Linked DNA regions of Homo sapiens: region 2 is linked to region 1. The links are contacts of gene promoters, found by promoter capture Hi-C in human tissues and cell types (Jung and others, 2019). All regions are on one chromosome and are shown on one strand. Each heading gives the region's core, a stretch centred on a gene start or on the middle of the fragment in contact. The rest is flanking DNA. Distances are from core to core; before and after follow the strand shown.

Region 1 (4,157 bases), core at 1,198-3,697:
ACCAGCTTTGGCAACAAAGCAAGAGAATGAATCCTCTACCAAAAAAAAAAAAAAAAAAAAATCAAGTGTGAAAATAAACTGAATTTGGAATCAGAACTCTGAACAGCTGTATCTAAGGGTCACACTAAGATTTATCCTAACCATCAACACAGCACATGAAAATAAATCAGCAACAGCAAATGTTTACTGGATGCTTTGACATTATCATTTTAGTTTACAAAACCCGCCCATCAAGAACAAAACATCATCCTCAGATTAAGTTTAGTAATAAATCATTTTGCCAATGATTCTGAACTCAAACTATAAAATTCAAATATCACTACCTCTGATTTCCCATAAGGACTAAATAAAACCTCACAAATGAAAGTGCCTAGTACAATGCCTGACATAAATACATACTCAATAAACATTAACTGCCTTTCTTTTGATCTTAGGCCATGTGATGTAATACTTGCTAGATGTGTGATGGGGCAAACTGCTTAACTCCATCTGTAAAATGGAAATATTAATGCCCACCTTATAGGGTTAAAGTCATTAAAGGATAATGCATACAAAGCCCTTCCACCCACAAAAGGCATTAATAAATCCTGAACCCTCTTTTTTCAAGATAACCTATTCATAACTGTATCAAAAGTATAGAATCATGGGTTGTTGAATTCAAAAATATCCTTCAGAATCCCTATCTTTTGGAAGAATTACAGGAATACAATACCATAAGACGGACGACACAGAGATGAAGTGTGTGCTCCATTAGTGTTTACTGAACTCAGGTGAATTGCTAAGTCCATTATCACTCGGCTAATTGTGGCGGTCTGGAGAGTCTCTCCAGGGGTAGGACTCTCACCTCCTGGTGAGCGACTGGGTCTTACTGCTCTCAAACCAGGGCTCTTTCCACTATCTTGTGTCCTCTCCCTAGTTTATGTCAGGTACATACTGATAAAATTATATACTGATTTATAGTCTCTAGCACAAATTCGCTTAAGGGTCATAATAAGGTATTTCCATAATTTAAGATTTTCTGTGGCTAAGGAAGTAAGGGTTGGGCAAAGGGTAGAAGTCACTCTATTCCTGTCAAACCCAAAAGTGAATATACTTTAAGTAAAATGCTATGCATTGAACACACAAATGCAGGTACGACTGCATGTGGTGAGTCGAAATTCAGATGAAGCACCTGTATAGCAATGAGTGAATTCACAGCCTCTAGATGACAAGTAGAAGGCAGGTTTTAAAATGTCTGAAAATTGCAACTTCAGCGCTTTTGCAACACCTGCTTTTACGATCTGTCACGTGGAGCAAAGAGGCATAACTCAACAGCACTACTAGGGCCAGACGACCATTCACAGGCTGGATACACAAACCTATCTTGTAAACATATAATCAAGCAAAAGCAGGCAAACCGGCACAAGAGGCCTTCACCTAACTTTCTTCCAGATGGCAAACGCTGCACGATGACAAACAAGGCAAACATGGTGCGCAAGCAGCCAACCCAAAACAAATAACTAGGGATTCTGACATCCAAAGGTCCTCTTCATCCTTAATCCTTCCAGAATGTCATCCCACAAGGCAGGGTTTGTTTGCCACAAAACCCTGCGGCCCCTCACATCCCGAGGGACAGTTCTGGTCACCTCCTCCCACGGACCTATTGAGCCTGCTTCACAGACCCCCGAAGCACTGACTCAATTATTCCCACAGTGTAGATTCCATTACATCTGTTAAAGTTTCCGGAACACGTGATTTAGGAGAGCAAACTTGTTAGAAACAGATTAAACAACACTCTAACACATTTCTCTGAGCCGTGTCACACTCGGGTCCAAACAATTCCCAAGGAGGGACTGACTGTCACCAATCTTGGATGGCACTGGTTCAAAGCGCCCTAAAGAGGGGAGCGAGCCCCGCCCGGCTCGCCGCCGGCAGCTCTTACCCATTTGTCCAAGGGGACCTGGGCGAGGGACCCGGTGCCTTGGTACAGGTCCAGGCTGAGCTGCTCCAGGCTCAGCTTCTCCTGCAGAAAGTGGCCCAGGTACCTCTGCAGGAGGTACCGGCAGGCCCTCTTCTTGATGGACTCCGAAAACGGCCAAGGCATAGTGACTGCTGGCAGCTGGGCTGACTGCGGCTGCGGGTTGCGACGGCTCCGGCCTCGGGGTAGCGACTCCGGCTCCAGGCCGCGGCGGGGCCTAAGCCTGGGGCGGCCCCTCCATCCCTATTTGGTGCCGGGAGTCCCTCAGGGAGACCCCATCGCCGGCGCCGCACCGCTCGCGCTGGGCCTGGCGGAGGCAAGACGCAGAGGGGTCCTCCTGGCCCCAGGCCAGGGGACTTCCGAGGAGGGTCCCAACCGGCTCGGAGAGAGTGCAAGAGAGCGCGAGAGGAGGCGGCAGGGGCTGAGGCAGCCACCGCCACTGCCGCCGCGCGACGAATTTGTTGTCATCCGCGAGGCGCGTTCCCGGCTGTAGGGACGCTCCTGGCGCGTTCACGAGACCCAGACTCCCGGCGCGCCGCCGGGCGCTGGCGGAAGTGACGCCACACTGGGGCCGCGGAAGGCGGGCAGAAGGGCGGGGGCTGGAGCAGTTCCGGCTCCGAGGGGGCGGGGCGGAAGAAGGCGGGGAGGGAGGGGGCGGCACCGCCGGTCGGCTCCAGTCGCCTCCGGAGGAAGGAAGAAGAGGACGCCGGGCGCGCAGGTGAGCGGCAGCCGGGGTGGCTGCGGGCGAGGGGCGGCCCCCGAGAAGGGCTAGGGGCTCGGGGCGCCGGCGGGCCGTCAGGCCTTCCGGATGGGGACGCGACGCCATGCAGCTGGCTGGGCCGAGAGGGGCGGCAGGCTGCAGGGGCCCCGCGCCCGTGTTAAGAGGGGTCTGGGGGCCGGTCTGGCCGGCCTGGCTCTCCCGGCTCCCCTCAGACCTCGGCGCCCCGGAAACGCACACTTGGGGCTCCGCCGTCTCCGCTGGGAGGACTGGAGCCCTTCTCGAGCATCCCCGCCCGCACCCGAGCATTGACCGGTGCCCATTGTCAGCAAGTTCTTCGGCCCCCGCCTCATTCAGGTATTGTTTCTGAGGCAGCTTCTTCGTTGCCGTTTGCCTGGCGGTTTGCAGAGCGCTTCTCGCATACGCTCGCTTAATCCTGGGTGTGTCATAGCAACGATCAGGAAACTTGGGTTTTCGAAGCATCTGTGGGCAAAACTGCATTCCTTGAGAAATGCTAAAGGCTCCTGACCCCGCCGGAACCTGGGTGAAGAACTTGGGCTGTTCTGGCAGTCTGCGCAATCGTATTTCTGCCTTTTGGGAGGTAACTCCTGCAGAGGCGGAGCCGGCTGTTAAGTTAAGTCAACCTCGAAAGGCCTGGGTGCGGGTGTTCTATGGCCCAGAAGCCAGATGTCCTTCGTTAGAATCCCGGCACTGACACCTATTAGCCGCCCAGCCACTTTGAGCGGCCACTGCCCTCCCCGAGCCCACGTTGCCTCCTTTGCCGAGTGTGAGCGGATTAAAATCTTATGTGCATGGATTTGTTGGGAAGATTAAATGATATGAGTAGGGCACGAACCTGAACAGAGTCCTGAAACATACAGCTGTTTAATCACAGTGAATTAAGACGACCAGTTTAAGGAGTGAAATGTTTACTGTCTCGGCAACTTTCATGAATGCCTTGGAAATACAGCCCAAAATATTGGTAGATGGAGAAACATCTGGTTCCCCTTTCCACAACCACCTTTTCGTTTTAGAACCAGGGTACTTTGTATGCAGTTGCTTGGATTGTTGATTTCCCTCATTCTTTGTAGACTCATCTCAAGTATTCTCAGTAACTTAGATTCCCTTGCTCTTCATTCAGAAATATTTGTTAAGGTCCATTAAATGAAAGTCACCACAGTTGATCATGTGAACAGTGTCAAGAATCAGGCCGAACCTTCAAGGAGTTTATGTTCTAAAACGGAAGCATGGTGGTACCTGCTTGTGGAGGCTGAGGCGGAAGGATCGCTTGAGCCCAGGACTTTGAGGCTGCATAATTGCATTGACGCTATCCATAGAGTGCCTGCAATTTCAAATATCAGAAAGGATCGTACGAGCTATGATCATGCCACTGCACTCCAGCCTGAACCACAGAGCAAGACCCTTTCTCTCAATAAAGTGGAAGTTTGTTCATTTATTCAGTAAATATTTATTGATTGCCTT
Region 2 (4,157 bases), core at 775-3,274, 460 kb after region 1:
TGCCCCCTTACAGTCTATTCTTGATGCGTCAACCAGAGTGATCCATTCAAAGTGCAAGTCAGAACATGTACACTCCTCTGCTCAAGACCTTCCAAGATTTCCCCATTCAGAGTTAACGTTGAAGTCCTTACAATAGCCTGAGTGTTGGGCATGTTCTCCACCTCTGTGCTTCTTTACATCTGACCCCAGCCATTGCTCTCCCCTGGCTAATTCTTCCTCAGCTGCACCAGTCCCCTTGCTGTTTCTAGAACAAGCTGGACATGTTCTTGCCTTAACGCCTTTGTAGTCGCTCCTCCCTCAATGTGGGATGCTATTCCTCTAGAGCATCTGTGTGGCTAGATTCTCTCACTTTTTTTTTTTTTTTAACAAGTTTTTGCTTAAATGTCACTTTCTTGTGAGGCTTTACCAGACCATCTTTTTAAATTTCATTCCCTCCCGCCCCCAACTCCCTGTCCCTGCCTTTTTTTTTTTTTCCTTAGCCCTTATACCATTGGACATATGACATGTTTTAATTTTTAGAAAATTATTTTTCTCTACTGAATAAAATATAAGCTCCATGAAGGCAGGAGTTTTTGTCTGCTTTGTTCACTTTTTATTCTTGTCTTGTAGAACAGTTCCTGCACAGAGTGTGCTGTCAATAAATACTTGTTGAGTAAACAAATTAATTAAGCAGGCAGTATGTATTGTAATAATGTAGAATTCCAATGGGACTCAGTATTGTTTTTATTTTAAATTTTAAGAGGGGTGTAGCATGGTAAAGTTTTTGTATTTCTTGTCAAAAAGTTGCAGACCATTCACTCTAATAGCACTACTAAATTACTGATATTTACATTAAAGGGAAAATAGGGTCTAGTCCTATTCTCTACTTTTTAGGCACAGAATTTGATTCATTGCAAAACCATTCCTATCGTGAGGTGACTTGTGACAGAGGCACTACAGAAGCACTTAACATTTTGGATTTGTATCAAGCTTATATAGTTTATAGATGGAATGTATTTTTAGAATGGACTAACACATTAGCAAAAAATATAACAAATGTAAAATCTTTGGTGAGAATTAAGTCAGCAGGAGAATTTTTCTTGACTTAGGTGTTCAGTGCATGATTTTCAATTTGATTGAAGTGTTGTGAACTACAATGCAAGTATACAGCAAGTTCCAAACCTTGTAGAAATCCATTTACCCTGTGGTGAAATTCAGAGTCCTGACAGTAGCCTTCAAGGCCCTACTTGATCTCTTGCTCCTGTGCTAACCTTTGGGACTTGATCTCCTGCTTCCCCCTTGCTCACGCCACACCAGCCACACTGGCATTCTTACTCTTTGGTTGCCAGGTGTGCTCCCACCTTAGGGTCTTTGCACAACTCGTCCCTCTGCCTATACTCTCTGCCCAGATACTCACATGGTCCTCTTCCTCAACTCCTTCAAGTCCTTGTTCCAATGAGCAAAGTCCTTTCAGAGGAGGCTGACCATGACCACTCTGTTTCACTGCAAGCTTTCCCCTTCTACCTTCTACTCCCTATCCTCTATCTCCCTTTACCTGCTTTATGTTTTTAAAACATGACTGGATTTTCTGAAATATTAGGTAACATATGCATTATTTGTTCTTTTTATCTGTCTCTTCCTGCCAGAATGTGTCAAAAGAGAAGGACCTTTGTTTTGTTCCTTGAGGTATAGCAAGTGCCTAGAACAGTGCTTGGCACATTGTAGATTATCAGTGACTATTTGTAGAGTGAGTGAATGAACAGACTATGTCATTACCCTTCATGAATTTACATAATCCACAGTTAACATTTATTTATTGCTGTGATAACTAGTAGATTTATGTAATTAGCATCTATAAGAATAACCTCTGAAAAAAATACCAATTGTAATGCTTTTCCAGTTGTGTGTGTATGGGGGCAGGAATGATTCTGTAGTCATCAGGAACACGTTGGTATTATCTTGATTCAACTTAATTTCTGCCTTTTTTATCTGCTGCATCTAGAAACTGTTTTCTTTTTTAAAAAATTGTGATAAGAAACATAGAAGATTTCCCATCTTAACCATTTTTAAGTGTACACAGTAGCGTTAAGTGTATTCATATTGTTGTGAAGCAGATCTCTAGAACTTAATTTGCAAATTCGAAACTCTATATACCACTAAACAACAACTCTCTTTTCTCCCTCCCTCCAGCCTCTGGCTTATTTCACTTAGCATAACTGTCCTCAAGATTCATCTGTGGTGTAGTGTGTGTCAGAATTTACTTCTATTTTTCAAGGCTGAATAATATTCCATTGTATATACATGCCACATTTATTCATTCATCTGTTAATGGACACTCAGGTTGCTTCCACCTTTTACTATTATTGTGGATAGTGCTGCTGTGCACATGGGTGTACAGATACCTCTTTGAGACTACAAACTTTTTCCTAGAGATCTGTTAACTTAAAGGAATAAACATCAATTATTTTTTCAAATAAATGTCCTGAATTTCCAAAGATCTTAATTTTATTGAGTAGCACATTTTTAAATATATAATTTATTTTCACATAATAAAATTTGTATTTTGGTGTAAGCTGTGGAAATGTAGGTGGTCTGCTTTTTTAACATGATAAAACCCTGGAAAACTGTATATGATAAAGTGGAACAAGCTCCCTGAATGAAAGCTCATTTCATCTTGAAAAAAGAATTTACTGTATTCCTCAAATTGCCTAGGACTGTGAGTAGCCTAAATGGTAGACTGGAATCCAGGATACTACTGTATTTTGAAAGCAAAAGGAAGAGAATGTTTCAAGAAAGAAAGAATGAGCAGTGTTGAGTGCTTCTGGGCAGGCAAATGAGATGATTCAGTGTCAGCTAGATTTCATAGCATGGAAGTCACTGGTGACCTCAGCAAGGGTTATTAGAGAGGAATCATGAAGGCGGATCTCGGAGTGAGTTGGATAAGTAGGTGAAAGGAAATATTGGCAAGTACAGACGATTATTGAAATGGCAAGTACAGACATTTGGCATTGAAAGGGAAAAGAAAGGATGATAGCAGAGATAGCAGAGGGGGATTAAAAACATTAATTTTTTTTTTTTTTTTTTCCCTCTGTCGCCCAGCCTGGAGTGCAGTGGCGCCGTCTCGGCTCACTGCAAGCTCTGCCTCCTGGGTTCACACCATTCTCCTGCCTCAGTCTCCCGAGTAGCTGGGACTACAGGCATCCACCACCACGCCTGGCTTATTTTTTGTATTTTTAGTAGAGACGGGATTTCACCATGTTAGCCAGGATGGTCTCGATCTCCTGACCTCGTGATCCACCCGCCTCGGCCTCCCAAAGTGCTGAGATTACAGGTGTGAGCCACCGCACCCGGCCAAAAACATTAATTTTTTAAAATGGCAGAGCCATAAGCATTTTTAATAGCTGATGGGAAGGATCTAGTTGAGGGAGACATTGAATATATTAGAGAAGGATTAATTAATAGTGTAAGTCTTGAGAAGGTTGGAGGGGATGGGATCCAAAGCAAAGGTGAAGGACTTGATGTTTGATAGGAGGAGGATAGTTTCTTTCAATGTGATAGGAGAGAAGGAAGCTAGGATTGGCTTGAAGTGGGTGCAGGTGGTTTGTAGGTGTGGCTCTTAGAAAGATAGGGAATTCCCATCTGAAGTTTCTGTTTTCTCTCTAAACTAGAGTAGGTCATCTGTTGATAATTATGGCTTAGGAAGGGGAATTAGAGTTTTGAGGAAGAATAAATAGAGTTTGACATAGTCATTGTAGAGGGTGGTTGCTGGACTTTTGAGGAATGACATTGTCCTTTGCAGTTGGGTGATGTATATTAAACATAAAGTTAGATATCTGGTAGTTGGGGAAAAATACTAAACTTTTTTGCTGTTTAATTTTATGGATTTAGTGAATTCCTGCTAACTACAATGTATTGTGACTAAGACATTTCTCATATACGAGGAGCTTATAAGCTTATAGGGAAAGTTATTTGTCACATGCAATAAGAGGTACAAACAGTACTGAAACTTCAGGTCATATCTGACTTCAGAAGAGATAGGTCTTTAGGTATGGGGAAAATGTCAATCAATGTATAAGGAGAGGTTAAATGAGAGAAAAGGCTTTGTGCTGGGAAGAATGGAGATAAAAATATGTTGGTTCCATGTTAATAGAATGGTGGAGTCCAGTTTGTCCAGAATT

What was found. Contacts are between HindIII fragments. The study calls those that stand out against the background at their distance.
Region 2: a contact is called between a fragment that was not itself captured here and the fragment with the promoter of ATG2B in region 1, in 1 of the 25 tissues and cell types used here (mesendoderm cells).

The regions. Positions count from the first base shown.
Region 1 is chr14:96,360,894-96,365,050 of GRCh38, forward strand. ATG2B (autophagy related 2B) reads right to left here and starts at 2,448. Exons shown (of 42, transcript NM_018036.7): 1 at 1,922-2,448. The coding sequence starts at 2,083. It overlaps GSKIP (GSK3B interacting protein), which reads left to right and starts at 2,633. Exons shown (of 4, transcript NM_016472.5): 1 at 2,633-2,675. RefSeq lists enhancers at 1,008-1,077, 2,319-2,613, 2,534-3,354 and a silencer at 2,556-2,905. The HindIII fragment of the contact is 16,004 bases long and covers 1-4,157 here.
Region 2 is chr14:96,821,621-96,825,777 of GRCh38, forward strand. The region is part of intron 1 of VRK1 (VRK serine/threonine kinase 1); the gene reads left to right. Among named protein-coding and RNA genes, the nearest start is that of VRK1, 26 kb to the left of the region's middle. The HindIII fragment of the contact is 4,580 bases long and covers 1-4,157 here.